Linked DNA regions of Homo sapiens: regions 1, 2 and 4 are each linked to region 3. Evidence: promoter capture Hi-C in human tissues and cell types (Jung and others, 2019). All regions are on one chromosome and are shown on one strand. Each heading gives the region's core, a stretch centred on a gene start or on the middle of the fragment in contact. The rest is flanking DNA. Distances are from core to core; before and after follow the strand shown. Region 1 holds the start of LUZP1 (leucine zipper protein 1). Region 2 holds the start of PITHD1 (PITH domain containing 1). Region 3 holds the start of ASAP3 (ArfGAP with SH3 domain, ankyrin repeat and PH domain 3). Region 4 holds the start of KDM1A (lysine demethylase 1A).

Region 1 (3,681 bases), core at 687-3,186, 320 kb before region 3:
CTTCCCAGCTCACTATTTCCAGCTTTTCAAACTTTAGTTACTATGTTTAGAAAAGTGATTTAATTTTAGAAACCTGGAAAATTCTTCTAGGAGTAAATTCTTCTAGGAGTAAATTGAGCAAAACCTTAATCTGCCCCCAGGGGAATTCTGAGCAAAACAATTATTTCTGACAAAAGAAGAATTTTCTATGGGGGTAATTCAATTTAACCACATGAATACTACCAAAGTTGCAAACAAGGTGACAGAAGGCAATCTGGAACACACCTTCCAGATTCCCCAAAAAGAAATGTCCTCCTAAAATCCAAACCCCTCCCTCCCTAATTTGAGGTAGTCAAATCTTATTAGGTGATCTGAATTCTCCCGGCTCTGACACCAGTCCAGCTCCTTAGGCCAGAACTGCAGCCGTCTGTAAAAGAAATACCCTGAGCAAACCCCACCCCTCAAAACATCCCCAAAAGGCAGGGAGGTCCAGAGAGTATTTTCTCCTCCAACGACAGATAAGGCACCAAGGGCTCAGCAGCGCAATCCTTCTCCCAAGGTCATTCAAGTCAGTGAAGGTGCGACGGTGGAGCTGCAGGCAGTCTGGCCTTCTGGAAATCACACTACAGGGGTTTTGGGGGTGCCTACTCTCTTCCCCTCTCCCACCCGCAAGGGTGAGCACTGGCCTCGGCATTCCCGAAACAAGCCACAACAAGCTCTGCAGTGTTAGGAAAGGGGTTGACGCGATGAAGAAACAGATGCTCCAAAGCAAGATGGTCTTTCTCGGCTCACAGAGGCTCCTCCAAGGTTATGCACAGAAACCGCAGCCACCTCCAAGAGCTCTAAACCGGGCTCCGAAGCCCCAGCGCGGCCGCTGCGGGTCGCCAGGTTCCCTGCAGGCAGGCTCCGCAGCCAGAGGCCACCAGCCCCAGAAACCGCACTTCATTCCTGCGCTCCGGGAAGCCATGGCTCCTTCCCTGCCCGGGCGGCTGGGCGGGGGCCGGGGGTGCGCCGGGAGGCGGGCCCCGCGCTGCGGAAAGTTCACCGCGGCGGGCGGGGGGAGGCCCCGGCCCCGCTCGCCGGCGTCCCCCTGCAGATTCCACCATTAATTAGTCCTAAGGACTGTCTACTGGCAACTTAAACAAAGCGAATGCCTCGAATTCCTTCCCGGCCCAGCGGTCTGGCTGCGAGACCAGCAGAGCGCCCGGGACGCGGGCCGGCGCGGCCGACAGCTGCGGCGGCCGCGGGACCCCTCCCCGCCCGGCCCGCGGCCCGCGCCCCGCGCCCGCAGCTGGCCCCGCACGCCGGCCCGACGCGCTCCCAAACCGCCCTCCTCCTCCTGCTGCTGCAGCTCCCGGGCCCTTCCTGTCTGATCACTTCCTTCCTCCGGTGCCCGCCGGGCCCCGCGCAGCCCCCTCCACGGCCGCCTCGTCGCCCCCCGCCCCTGTCGGCCCGCGCCCCCTCCCCCAACCCCAAACTCTACCCCCGAAACTCTTCGCCGCCCCCTCGAAAATGTCTCCTCCGCGTCTCTGCCCCAAACATTTCTCCTCAGAGTCTCGCTCCCACCAAGAAGTCTCCTCAGAACCTTCCCTCCCCCTCCCGAGGAAAAATCTCCTCAGAGTCTCTTCCTCCAACTCCACAAACATGTGCTGGGTCTCGCCCCAAAAGGTCTCCTCCTGAGCCCTTCCTCCAAAATCCATTCCAACTCTCCCCCAACTCCACACCCCATCTCTCCTCGGCTGCGCCCGCGGTTTCTTCTGCCCCGTGGCCGCGGGTGCCCCGACCTCACCCGGGACCGGCCTCCCAACCCCGCCGCCCTCCCCTCCCCGCGCCGCGCTCCCGCCGCCGCCGCCTCACGGACCCTCACCTCTGCGGCCCCGAACCGCGCTCCCGCCAGCGAAGGGTTCCGCCGCTCAGCTGCCAGCGACCGGCGCCTCCTCTGGCTCCGCGGGACTGACAATGAGGGGCGGGGCCAAATTGTGACGTCAGCGTTCTGGAAGGCGGGGTCTTTGTGATGGGCGGGGTTGTCTGTAGGCCCCGCCCCCTCCGTCCTTTTTTTCCCTTCCCAGGACTTAGACTCCACCAAGTTTTTATTGCCTCCGTAGCTGGGTCCTGTGCTAGGCGCCCTGGGAAATCGAAATGGAAGACAAGACTTCTCGATTTCAGGAGGGACACTTTCGGCCCGCGTGGTGGCTCAAGTCTGTAATCCCAGAACTTTGGGAGGCTGAGGCGGACGGATCGCTTAAACTCAGAAGTTCGAGACCAGCCTGGGCAACATGGCGAAACCCCATCTCTATAAAAAATACAAAAATTAGCCGGGAGTGGTGGCGCCCGCCGGTAAGCTAAAGTAGGAGGATCGCTTGAGCCGAGGGAGGTCGAGGCTGCAGTGAGCCGTGATCGTGCCACTGCACTCCGGCGTGGGTGACAGAGTGAGACCCTGTCTCAAAAGAAAAAGAAAAAAGCGGGACACTCTCAGTAGGGTTGTGAGGATTAAATGAGATAATCAATGGAAAGGTGCTTAGCCTAGAACCTGATATGGAATAATCACTCAACAAATCCTATTTCTATTACTCTGCAAATGCAGAGAAGGAACTCAGCTCAGACTCGGGAGGCATGGGTTCCCGTCCCCCACTGTGCTATTAATTCTTTGTGTGATGCTAGACAAGTACTTTCCCATCTATGTTCCCGATTTTCATCTTCTTTAAAATGGGAAGGGGGAATAACCAGATGATCTCAAAATCCCCTCCCATACTTCTATGACATACTTCCTTTAAGTCTACTATCTAAAAGGCACCTAGTGCCCTGAGAAGCCAGGAGGAAGGCTTCAAAGACAGCCCAAGACCCACACCCAGCATAGTACAGGACACAGCCAGAGACTGCTCTCGCTGCGGATGCCCTCCCACACGCTGGCACGCAGCAGCATTCACAAGCCAGGACACAGATGGGCTGAGGGCTGCTTCCTCTCTGACTACAGCAGCATGGTTGGTCTCTTGAGACATCTCTTGTGTAAGCTCTTTATTGCCTATGGAATAAAGGCCAAAGCCCTGGCCTGGTATGATCACTTCCTACCTTTACACACACACACACACACACACACACACAAAGTTTATCCAAACTTCTCTTAGCACACCCACTGCTTTCCCACATTTGACCCTTTGCTGAAGCTCTTCCCCTGCTGTCTCACCTCCCAGCTTCTCCCAGCCAGAAAGCAATCCTCCCTGTTCTGAATAACCAATAACATTGTGTTTAACCCTCACGTGGGCATGAACACTACAACTTATAAAGAACTGACCTCCCATTTGTTTCTTAGCACTTCCTGGAGGTCAGAACCCACACATGTTTGTGGAGCTCAAGCTCTGATGCCAGAAAACCCTGGGATCATATGTTCTGGGGTCATAATAGCCATCTCTGAGCCTGTCTTCTCATCTATAAAATGGGGATAATAATATAGTCTTGTGGTGTTTGTTTTAAAATTACCTAAGATACTGTATGGAAAACATCAGGCACAGTGTTCCACAAACAATATGAACAATATGATTGTCATTCTTATTTTCTTTTTCTTTCTTTTTTTTTTTTTTTTTTTTTGAGACGAATTTTCTCTCTTGTCGCCCAGGCTGGAGTGCAGTGGCACGATCTCAGTTCACTGCAACCTCTGCCTTCCAGGTTCAAGAGATTCTCCTGCCTCAGCCTCCCAAGTAGCTG
Region 2 (3,909 bases), core at 128-2,627, 290 kb after region 3:
TTAATTATTTTGATCTCAACCCACAATATGAAAAACACATCATATTGTGTCTGAATACAAACTCAAAACTGAAACAAAAGTTTCATCAATTGAGACTTGAAATGTGTGATACATTCTGGGTTTTTTTTTTTTTGTATTCTATTTTTTTTTTAAATGTTGATCACAATTCTCTATAAACGGATTTTAAAACCTATTGACAGGCCACAACCAGCTGTTCGAAAAAAAGTACTTTGAAATATCACATGGGGGAGGAAACGCAGAGATCATCTAGTCCAATCCCTTCACTTCACAGGGGGTAAACTGAGTCTCAGAAGATCAAGTCACTTGCCCAAGGCCACGCAGCTAGTAAGTTGCTGTGGTTGGATTTGACCGTAATAACCATCGGCTACTGAATGCCCATCATGTGTCAGCCATTTGCTGAGTTTTTTCTTTTTTTTTCTTTTTGAGACAGAGTCTTGCTCTGTCGCCAGGCTGGAGTGCAGTGGCGCGATGTCGGCTCACTGCAACCTCTGCCTCCCGGGTTCAAGCGATTCTCCTGCTTCAGCCTCCCGAGTAGCTGGGACTACAGGCTCGCGCCACCACGCCTAGCTAATTTTTGTATTTTTAGTAGAGACGGGGTTTCATCATGTTGGCTAGGATGGTCTCGATCTTTTGACCTCGTGATCCGCCCGCCTCGGCCTCCCAAAGTGCTGGGATTACAGGCGTGAGCCACCGCGCCCGGCCTGCTGAGTTCTTTAATTGCATTATTTCATTTAATACTCACTGTGATCCTATGAAACAGATACTATTCTTTCCACCTTACAGACGGGGAAACGGAGTCTCAGAATAGGGGAAATGACTTAAGGTGTCACAATGGCCAGTAGCAGACCCAGGAGTAGTCTTTAGGTCTGGCCGTGCACAAAGCCCCATGCTCTCAAGCTGTAACCCCGCTATCAAGAAAGTGGTTATGCAAGTGGGCCTGTGAGCTCTCAACGTCTAAGCCGTGCGCATGTGAGACAGCGATAAGCTCGCGTTCTCCAGTCTCCAGGGCCTTATCATTCCTCACGCTTTCCTTCATCGGCTCGCAAAGAAACGTGGCGATCAAGGAAGACAGCGAAGGCTCCATCCTCGTCGGGGGAGGATAATTCGAATCTCAGCCTGTGAGTTTACTCAGCACACCTGTTTAATCTCTTGGTCCTTCAGTTTCCACACCTAGGAAGCTGGAACAGCAGCAGCATCCAGCGCCAGGACTGGAGTCATATACGAACTCTGGCACCTGGGAGGCGCGCGTCCTACGTCAGTTCCGCTCGACCCCACCCCCCCCGCCCCCCCGCCTTCTCCCCACGCGCATGCGCCGCGCAGCGGCGCTTTTTACGACGCGGCAGGCGCGGCGCGCTTAGTTGCCGGAGCTGAACGGCGCGGAGCTGGTCTGAGGCGAGCCGAGCCGAGCGAGCGCGGCGGTGGGGCCGAGAGGACGCGCAGGTGGCGGCGTTGCCATGTCGCACGGTCACAGCCACGGCGGGGGTGGCTGCCGCTGCGCCGCCGAACGGGAGGAGCCGCCCGAGCAGCGCGGCCTGGCCTACGGCCTGTACCTGCGCATCGACCTGGAGCGGCTGCAATGCCTTAACGAGAGCCGCGAGGGCAGCGGCCGCGGCGTCTTCAAGCCGTGGGAGGAGCGGACCGACCGCTCCAAGGTGGGCCGCCTGGGGCTTGGGGCGGGCGGGGCAGGGTGCGTGTGGGGCCTCGGGCCGTCGGTCTACTCATTTCTGATGTTAAGAATAACGACAGCCTGGTTGCCAAGCGCTTTTCCGTGCCTGTCTCCTGCCAGCTCTTTGGGAGGCGAGCAGCGTTGTCTCCCCATTTTGCATATAGGGAAACTGAGGCCTAGAGGGAACGGGGACAGTTTTGTCAAGCTACACAGCCTAACGCTCTATTCCAGGGCTGTGTGGGCTAGAGAGGATGGTCGTGAGGGCCGTTGGACCATTGGTGCTAATGGCTGCCTCATCATATTACCTGGTGAAGATGAGCCTAGGGAGATGAAAGGTGGTTCCCATATAGAGCAAATGTTCTTTACATTGTGGGGTCGCAGGCCCCTTTGCTATCTGTTTGAAAGCAGTGGACCTTCTTCTCAGAAAAATGCACATAAACACCTGCCTTTCAGTTCACACTTCAGAAGGCTCTTCGACCCTGGAAATTCATTCATGGGCTTTTTGTTAAGAACCTTCCAGTTGGGTGGCCTGTGGCTGTTATGACACTGGATAAGACTGGTTAGCTTCAAGTTAATAAGTCTTGGAAAACCAAGGGAGAGTGACTCTTCCCATTGCACCCCAGTTGTAGAGCAGGGTGGGAGATGCCTGAAATTGTAGGCTCTCAGCAAATATTTGTTGCTTTCTCCTCCCCCCTCCCCATCCCCTCCAGTTTGTTGAAAGTGATGCAGATGAAGAGCTTCTGTTTAATATTCCGTAAGTATCTCCTTGGTGCCTACCTCAGGCTAAATAGGCTGTACCCAGTTGCCTCAGATGGATTCATTCACTGGTGTCAAGAGCACACATTTGCTTCTAGAAATGGGATAAATTACTTTGGTGGGTTTGAGGAGGAAAGCATCATAGCTTTCTTGGTGCAGACTGGAAACAGATGTATTTGTAGAACAATAACTGAGAAATTGAGGTAGATTTCTTAGAATTGTAGAATGCTAGAGGTAGACAGGATCTTAGAAATTATCTAGTACAAGTTGACAGATGAGTAAACTGAAGCCCATACAGGGGAAGGGTCTTGCCCAGGGTCACACAACTAAACAGGTATTCAAACTCAGGTTTGACAACCTTCTCTTTTGCATTCTGGCAGATTTACGGGCAATGTCAAGCTCAAAGGCATCATTATAATGGGAGAGGATGATGACTCACACCCCTCTGAGATGAGACTGTAAGTGGCAAAGGCTTAGGCCCTCAAAGGAGCTCCTAATTCTCTTTTTCTGGTAACATTTTATTCCAGAATAGTATCATTTTCTTCTTACCGGGTTTAATATTTCCCCTTTTAAAATATCTTGGTCCTGTTCTCATTCTGCATTGGAATACATATATTTCTTCCTGAATTAATGACTTTTTTAGATTAAGCATCTTTAGGCCCAACAGCGTGTCTCATATTTCAAAGTGCTTACTATGACATGATTCATTCAGAGAGCATTGTGTAAATGTCACTTGTTGATGACTCTGCAGTTTTCTTAATAACTAGCTGCAGATCTCATATGATCTTTATGGATTCTAGGGGTTAGCTTCAACATTTTTCCTTGCTATTTCATACAGTAATGATCTTATGTGTTTTGTTGACATGGAATTGCTCCACCTGACTTTGCGTGGCATTTAGTTAGCAAAGTTGTGTATACCTCTTGCAACACTGAATCTTTTGCCACCAGAGCTAGTACCCTTTTTGACAACTTACCTTATTCCAGAACAGCCTTCCTAAAAGAAGGGGAAAACTGCTTTCTGAGTGCTGGAGAAACATATAAGAAGAACTTTACATTTAAAAAATTCAGTCCGGGTGCAGTAGCTTATCTCACAAAACCAATAAAAGATGATATATAGGCTGGGCACAGTGGCTTACACTTGTAATCCCAGCACTTTGGGAGGCTGAGGCGGGCGGATCACCTGAGGTTCGAGACCAGCCTGGCCAACCTGGTAAAACCCCGTCTCTACTAAAAAAACAAAAATTAGCTGGGCCTGGTGGTGCGTGCCTGTAATCCCAGCTACTAGGGAGGGTGAGGCAGGAGAATTGCTTGAACCTGGGAGGCGGAGGTTGCAGCGAGCCGAGATCTCGCCACTGCACTCCAGCCTGGATGACAGAATGAGACCCCATCTCAAAAGTAATAATAAAAACAAATAAATAAAAAATTCAAATCCTAAAGGCCGAGCATGGTGGTTCACACCTGTAATC
Region 3 (3,700 bases), core at 727-3,226:
TAATCTGACGATAATCATTCCATTTATCAAGAGGCATGGGCCAGTGCAGCGGCTCACACCTATAATCCTAGTACTTTGAGAGGCCAAGGCGGATAGACTGCCTGAGCTCAGGAGTTCAAGAACAGCCTGACCAACATGGTGAAACCCTGTCTCTACTAAAAATACAAATATTAGCCGGGTGTGGTGGAGCATGCCTGTAATTCCAGCTGCTTGGGAGGCTGAGGAATGAGAATTGCTTGAACCCGGGAGGCAGAGATTGCAGTCAGCTGAGATCGCACCACTGTACTCCAGCCTGGGAGACAGAGCAAGACTCTGTCTCCAAAAAAAAGATGCATGCTTTATATGCATTGTCTCATGTGAGGTACACATTATTACCCCCATTCCACAGATGACAGGACAGGTCACATGCCCACGTTCACCCAAATGGCAAACTGCAGAGCCAGCGTTTGAAAAAAGGTCTGCCTTGGCCGGCGCGGTGGCTCACGCCTGTAATCCCAGCACTTTGGGAGGCCGAGACGGGCGGATCATGAGGTCAGGAGATCGAGACCATCCTGGCTAACACGGTGAAACCCCGTCTCTACTAAAAATACAAAAAAAAAATTAGCCAGGCGTAGTGGCGGGAGCCTGTAGTCCCAGCTACTCGGGAGGCTGAGGCAGGAGAATGGTGTGAACCTGGGAGGCGGAGTTTGCATTGAGCCAAGATCGCGTCACTGCACTCCAGCCTGGGCGACACAGCGAGACTCCGTCTCAAAAAAAAAAAAGGAAAGAAAAAAGGTCTGCCTTCCCCAAAGTCGATGCTCCTTCCACAATCCTCTATCACCCTTACAAAGTGATACAAACAGACTCCGAGATGGAGGGTCACCCTGACAAGAGAGAAGAGGACAGATTTCCTGACACTGGCGCAGGGTGTTATGAACTACTGAGCTTTGTATCTGCCACGCAGTGGGTGCCTAGTACACTTAAGGTGAAGGGTGGAAGGCTAGAGCCGTTGCTGAGGTCCAAAATGCCACCCAAATTGAGGGCATCCTTTGGATGGGGAGCTGCAAAAACACATTATTCTCCGTTGGACCAAGGCCACGGGGTGTCTGTCCTAGAATATTCTTTGCAGAGGAGCTGCGGAAAGCTGCAGCAGGTTCAGAGAAGAGGAATGGAAGGAACTCCGAAGAGCATGGGAATGGGGTGGGGCAGCCTGCAAGACCGAAAGAAAAGGCCTGGGACGCTTTGCTGGGAAAGACAAAGAGGAGAGGGGAGGGGAGAGGAGACGATAAACTTGCCAACAGCCCGGCCAAGGTGAACCCCGGCTCCTGGCGCCTTCCCATCCGCATTCATTCCACAAACGCGGGCCAAATCTCCGAACCAGCCGCAAGCGGGAGGGGGCCTCTCTGCAGCCGGGGGGAAGAAAGTTCAGGACTGAGGCGGGAAGCCTGCCTCTCAGAAGGGGAGTGACTCGGGGGGCACACTTGTGGGGCTCCGAAGATGAAAACGCAAACTGAGGCTGGAAGGCGCTAGGCAAACACATATGTGATGAGGCGGTCACGCGGGGCACTTGGGGTACGTCCCCCGACCTGTGGAGTTTGTCATCGAAGAGACCTCGAGGCCCCCCAAAACGGTCCCTCGGGCCTTCCCCCGCCTCGACGGTGAGGACGCAGCTGTTGGAGATGCGCTCGGTCCTCCCAGACCTAGGGAGGGGGCAGGTTTCGGGGCGCGGTGAAGGGCCATCGCAGCTCGGGTGCGACACGCCTGTGGAGGTCAAGGCCAGGCCCGGCGCCGACCCCCGACCCCTCCCGCCTCGGCCCCCTCACCTCCTCCCGCGCCAGCGCCGCCCCTCGGTACCGGGGCATCTTGGCGGCGAAGGCGGCGGCCCCAGCCGGGGAGCTGAGGTCCTCCGCGGTGACGGCCAGGAACTCGGCGACGCTGAACTGCTCCGGCATGGCGGGCGCGAGCGTGGAGCTGCCGGAGCGGGGCGCGGGGGGCACTGAGCTGCTCCGCGCTGAGCCGGCCTCACCGCCGGCCGGGGGCGCCGTCCCGGCCTCCACACGCCCCGCCCCTCCGCACGCCCCGCCCCCGACCCTCCAGCCGCTCTCCGCTCCTCAGCTGGGACGGCCCCGCCCCCGGCTCCTCGCCTTCCTCCACCGCCAAGGTCCAGGCTCCGGCCCCGGTCCCGGCCCCGCACCGCGTCAGGCCGCTTCCCCGGCCCCTCGCCGGCCCCCTAGGCCACGCCCCCAGCCCCTCACCGCCTCAGACCCCGCCCCCTGGCGCGATGCCCCACCCCTGGCCTCAGTAGAAACTCCTCCGCCTTCCCCCATCCCTGCCCCTTCAGGGCTCTGTCCCGTTTCATCCCGCTCTGGGTCTTCCAAATCCTCCTCCCTTGCACGGCCCAGGCTGTTCCATCTCCGCGTCGAGTCTTAGAGCCCCCTCCCTCTTCCTCCCTCCTCTGCTGATTCGTTCCGAGTTCCCCATGACCTCGCCCCTTCTGCCCTACCACCCCCCCGCCACCCTTCCCTCCTCTCTCCCCAGTCCCGCCCAATCTCCTTGCCTCGCTCCGCCCCGAATCGCCCCACCCCTCCTTTGCTGCGTACGCCCAGCTCTCAGCCTCAGCTTTGCAGGCATCCGGAGACTCCCTCCTGATAACCCCCGCCGCCCCGGGGATGTGTGGATCGGGGCCCCTGGCTAGCTGTGTGACTTGGGGAAAATTACTTCTCTTCTGGAACCTCAGTTTCCTTATCTGTACAATGGGAAGCCTGATGCCCGCTTGATTGTGATGTTGCGAAGAACCGAACACGTGCGTGTACTAGTTCCCTCTTACCCGACCATAGATCGCACCCACGCCTTTACTCTTCCTGCTCCTGCCTTTCACCCCTTAATCTGGCTCACCATCCTTTGGGGCGGATGAGGGATGGGGTTCAGGATAGAAATCCACTTAGGTTTAGTTCTGAAGCCTGAGGTCCTCTGGGGAAAAGTTCTCCAAGTAAAAAGCTAGGAAAGCACCGCAGCAAGGAACATTGGTTTTGGAGTCAGAGGAACCTAGATTCCAATCTTGGTTACTTTGGATAAATTGCTTGCTTCTCTAAGCCTGCATTTCCCCCTCTTAAAATGGCCTCATGGTATTTTACCCCACAGGGCGGCGATTGAGAGAATCTTTTCTTTTCTCGCACAGAAAAGAAAAGAAAAGAAAAAATCCGGAAAGATATGCACTAAAATGTTGCACCAGCAACATTTTATGCACTAGCTGAAGACAGATATGCACTAGCTGAAGACATTATGAGTAACTTTCTTTTCTTTTGGTGAATCTGTATATCCTAACTTTTATACAATGACCATATACTACTGTGTAATAGAATTAAAAGTTGACGGGAGCGATGGCTCATGCCTGTAATCTTAGCACTTTGGGAAGCCGAGGTGAGCGGATTGTTCAGGAGTTCAAGGCCAACCTGAGCAACATGGCGAAACCTTGTCTCTACAAAATATACAAAAATTAGCCCGGCGTGGTGGCTCTTGCCTGTAGTCCCAGCTACTTGGTGGGCTGAGGCAGGAAAATGGCTTAAACCTGGGAGGTCAAGTTTGCAGTGAGCTGAGATCCTGCCATTGCACTCCAGCCTGGGTGACAAAGTGAGACCCTGTCTCAAAAAAAAAAAAAAAGAAAAAGAAAAAGAAAAGAAAGAAAAAAGAATTAAAAGTTGAAAAAAATGTGTACCATCTG
Region 4 (4,056 bases), core at 29-2,528, 460 kb before region 3:
AATGAACTCCTAGGCTCAAGTGATTCTCCCACCTCAGTCTCTCGAGCAGCTGGTACTACAAGTGCGTGCCACGCCACTCGGATACATTTTCTTTCTTGCATAGCTTTTACTTTTTTTCCTTTCTACATTTGATTGCCTTTTTGTCTGTTTGCTTAGTTTTTTACAAAAAACAACTTTACTGAAGTACTACAGTTACATAAAACATACCTGTTTTACATGGATAGTTCATAGAGTTTTGACAAATATATACACCTATGTAACCATCACCCTAATCAAGATATAAAACATTTCCATCACCCCCAGCAAGTTCTTTCTTGTTCTTTTGCAGTCAACCCCCGACCCCCATCTCAGGCAAGGGCTGATTGGAGCCTATTACTGGAGATTAGTTTTACCAGTTCTTGAACTTCATGTAAATGGAATAATTTTTTGACAATTTCACTTCGAAGAGACAGACTATTAAAAAGACAATTGTTTGTGTAATAAGTACACGCATGCTAAAAGTACACGACCTGTTCCAGTTTTGGGTTAGCAAGGGATTCCTCGAAAAATTAAAAGAATAAACCGCTACTATCATTATTAGAAAGAATTAACCTGGAGTAGAAAGAGGTGTTATGTGGATGGGGATGGGGGACATGAAGGATGGGGGACATGGGGGATGGGGGACATGGGGGATGGGAGAAGCGCAAGACATGGAGTGCGAATGAGGTTGGGGTCCAGCCAGAAGGAAAAGCATGAACAAAGGCTTGGAGACAAGAGCAATTCCGTCTGGACTCAAACCTGGATTTCGTAACTTGTCTCCATTTTACTACCATCGAAACTGCTGTGCTCTCCAAGTTTTTTGCCCAGTCCAAGCAGGGCAATTATGAATAAGTAAGACGCTCTACCAACATATTTCAGTGTTTTCCCCCATTAGACTGTAAGTTCTTTGAAAGCTAGAACTTCATAATGTAACCCTTGTTACGTAGTAGGCAAGCATTAATAAATACTGGTTGAATTAACGAATAATTGGGTGAGTGAATGAACGAACGCACGCATGCAAACCCGAAAGTCCCTGGAGGAAATGGTCACCTTCGGAGGTTTAGTCTGGCCCAGAAGCCCTAAGACCACGGACTGTGCCAGGTCCCACTCCAAACGCCGGGGAGACGCTCTAGGCAAGCTACACGTTCTTTGCTGCGGTGCCACTCTAGCCGCGAGAACGCCGCTCTATGGCTGCGGGGGAGGGGCGGGGCTCGTGGGTGTCTCCGACCCTTTTTGTCCCGGCGCGGCGGGAGCGCGCTTGGCGCGTGCGTACGCGACGGCGGTTGGCGGCGCGCGGGCAGCGTGAAGCGAGGCGAGGCAAGGCTTTTCGGACCCACGGAGCGACAGAGCGAGCGGCCCCTACGGCCGTCGGCGGCCCGGCGGCCCGAGATGTTATCTGGGAAGAAGGCGGCAGCCGCGGCGGCGGCGGCTGCAGCGGCAGCAACCGGGACGGAGGCTGGCCCTGGGACAGCAGGCGGCTCCGAGAACGGGTCTGAGGTGGCCGCGCAGCCCGCGGGCCTGTCGGGCCCAGCCGAGGTCGGGCCGGGGGCGGTGGGGGAGCGCACACCCCGCAAGAAAGAGCCTCCGCGGGCCTCGCCCCCCGGGGGCCTGGCGGAACCGCCGGGGTCCGCAGGGCCTCAGGCCGGCCCTACTGTCGTGCCTGGGTCTGCGACCCCCATGGAAACTGGAATAGCAGAGACTCCGGAGGGGCGTCGGACCAGCCGGCGCAAGCGGGCGAAGGTAAGGCTCGACCCTTCCCTCAAACGACACCGCCTGGTGCCGAGCTTCCCCGAGGCTTCTCCGCCCTCCCCCGCCGCCGCCGGGTCTTGGGCCCTGCGACCACTCAGACCTCCCCTTGTATCGCTGCGCACGCCACGTCCCCTCTAGCTGGACGGGTGGGGTGAGAAAGGAAAAGTCTTTGCCGGTGTTGACTGCGGTCTTTGTGCTGGGTCCCGAGCGACGTGGGAAGGGGCATCGATGATTGCTGGGAGGGGTATTTTATTCCTTAGGTCTTTCTTGCACACCTTTTCATTTTCTTGACTGGAAAATGGCTCCCTGACGTGGGGTTACGGTTGGCGTTCTTGGAGACCTCACTTGTTTGTTCACAGATAGGTCTGGAAGCTGTTGGGCGATATTGATGGCGTTTCAGCTGGGTGCACGAGGGGGCTGTAGGTTGATGCTGAAGAAATCGCCTTAGCCGGGGAGATGAAAAGAAAGGGTCGTTTTTGCTTTTGTTTTTGTTTGAGCAAAACCCTGCTGTGTGGTAGGAGTTCTAGTCTTTTTTTTTTTCTTTTTTAAAATCCTCTCAGCGATCTTTTGGCGCAGAATTTTGCAGATGAGGAAGCTGCTGATTGAGAGAGCAAATAATAGTCAAAATGCAAATATATGGGAAGAAAAGATTTGACTCCAAACAGTATATACAGACAGTGACTGCCTCAAATGTCTGTGTCCTAGATGCTATATTCAGCGTGTCACCAACATTACTTTTTTTTGTTGTTGTTAAATATCAACGGGCAGGTATTGCTAGCCCTATTTTAGGAATGAGTAAACTGAGGCACACAATTTAAGCAACTTGCCTAAAGTCACAAAGCTAAATAAGTGATGGAAGTGGAATGTAATTCCCACATTCATGTTGTTACAGGGTATCATCAGCCCTTGAAACAAAGGACCACATGGGACACTGTGTGCAGGGCACTGGGGCAGTATTAGGGCGCAGACTTTAGACTTGGGCCTTTTCTGGAGATTTAATGGTCGGTCTAGTTGGAAAAAACAACCTGGATATATATGTGCGTGTAGTCAACATTTAAATAAAAATTTGCAGATTATATAATTTATGCCTGAAAAAATTGTCTACATAATTTTTAAGTGGGAATACCAAGTCAGTGTGTATGGGGAGCTTCTTGAGATGAGTATTACCCAGTCTGAGAGCTCTCATATTTATCTGCCTACTTGAGCCAACTCTCTAAAGTATAACCAGTGCTGGATGAAAGACCGTTTTGGAGGCAAGACTTTCTGGAGCTTTTACCAAAGCATGGGTTAGAAAAGCACAGAGGTTGGTGACACCAGCCCTCAGAAATGAAATAAAGGGCAGAAGTCAAGAGTGTTATTTTACGATTTCAATAGACAGGTGGCCAGAAGCCACGTATAAGATGTTTTTAAAAACAGATTTATTGGCTGGGCACAGTGGCTCACTCCTGTAATCCCTGCACTTTGGGAGGCCAAGGCGGGTGGATCACCTGTGGTCAGGAGTTCGAGACCAGCCTGGCCAACATGATGAAACCCCCGTCTCTACTAAAAATACAAAAAATTAGCCGGGCGTGGTGGCGGGCGCCTGTAATCCCAGCTACTCCGGAGGCTGAGTTAGGGAGAATTGCTTGAACCCGGGAGGCAGAGGTTGCAGTGAGCCCAGATCGTGCCACTGCACTTCAGCCTGGGCAACAAGAGCGAAACTGTCTAAAAGCAAACAAAAAAACAGGCTTATTGGGATAATGCATGTATAATAATATTCACCATTTTAAAATGTATGATTCAGTGGTTTTTAGCATATTTACAAGATTGTACAGCCAACACCACAATTGATTTTAGAACCTTTTCATCATCCCCAAAGACATCTGTATCATTAGCAGTCACTCCCCAGTCCTCCCTACCCCCAGTCCCTGGCAACCACTAATCTACTCTTTGTCTATGGATTTGTCTATTCTGAACATTTTATATAAAATCTTATGTAGCCTTTTGTATTTGGCTTTAGCATGTTTTCAGGGTTCATTCACGTTGTAGTGCTTTCATTCAGTACTTGATAACTCTTTATGGCTGAATAATATTCCATTGTATGGATATACCAAATTTGGTTTACCCATTCATCATTTGACGCACATTGGGGTTTGTTTCCAAGTCTTGGCTATTTTACATAATGCTGCTGTGAACATTAATGTACAGTTTATTTTGTGAATATGTTTTCAGTTCTCTTTGGGTGTGGGCCTAGGAATTCCTGGGTTTTATGTTAATTCTAGGTTTTACTTTTGAGGTATAGCCAAACAG

What was found. Contacts are between HindIII fragments. The study calls those that stand out against the background at their distance.
Region 1: the fragment with the promoter of LUZP1 here is called in contact with the fragment with the promoter of ASAP3 in region 3 in 1 of the 25 tissues and cell types used here (pancreas).
Region 2: the fragment with the promoter of PITHD1 here is called in contact with the fragment with the promoter of ASAP3 in region 3 in 1 of the 25 tissues and cell types used here (mesendoderm cells).
Region 4: a contact is called between the fragment with the promoter of KDM1A here and the fragment with the promoter of ASAP3 in region 3, in 1 of the 25 tissues and cell types used here (heart right ventricle).

Annotation. Positions count from the first base shown.
Region 1 is chr1:23,166,920-23,170,600 of GRCh38, forward strand. LUZP1 (leucine zipper protein 1) reads right to left here and starts at 1,937. Exons shown (of 4, transcript NM_001395462.2): 1 at 1,847-1,937. RefSeq lists enhancers at 643-1,174, 1,175-1,706, 2,782-2,831 and silencers at 946-1,085, 2,077-2,136. The HindIII fragment of the contact is 15,099 bases long and covers 1,729-3,681 here.
Region 2 is chr1:23,777,041-23,780,949 of GRCh38, forward strand. PITHD1 (PITH domain containing 1) reads left to right here and starts at 1,378. Exons shown (of 6, transcript NM_020362.5): 1 at 1,378-1,673; 2 at 2,398-2,441; 3 at 2,824-2,901. The coding sequence starts at 1,476. It overlaps ELOA-AS1 (ELOA antisense RNA 1), which reads right to left and starts at 1,257. Exons shown (of 4, transcript NR_038280.1): 1 at 1,159-1,257. RefSeq lists enhancers at 102-1,054, 2,308-3,507 and silencers at 1,308-1,617, 1,708-1,757. The HindIII fragment of the contact is 12,544 bases long and covers 1-3,909 here.
Region 3 is chr1:23,482,203-23,485,902 of GRCh38, forward strand. It overlaps ASAP3 (ArfGAP with SH3 domain, ankyrin repeat and PH domain 3), which reads right to left and starts at 1,977. Exons shown (of 25, transcript NM_017707.4): 1 at 1,803-1,977. The coding sequence starts at 1,931. RefSeq lists silencers at 1,812-2,261, 2,382-2,491, 2,502-2,551 and an enhancer at 2,742-2,841. The HindIII fragment of the contact is 29,915 bases long and covers 1-3,700 here.
Region 4 is chr1:23,018,190-23,022,245 of GRCh38, forward strand. It overlaps KDM1A (lysine demethylase 1A), which reads left to right and starts at 1,279. Exons shown (of 21, transcript NM_001009999.3): 1 at 1,279-1,758. The coding sequence starts at 1,408. RefSeq lists enhancers at 1,083-1,770, 1,771-2,456 and a silencer at 1,526-1,595. The HindIII fragment of the contact is 14,593 bases long and covers 1-4,056 here.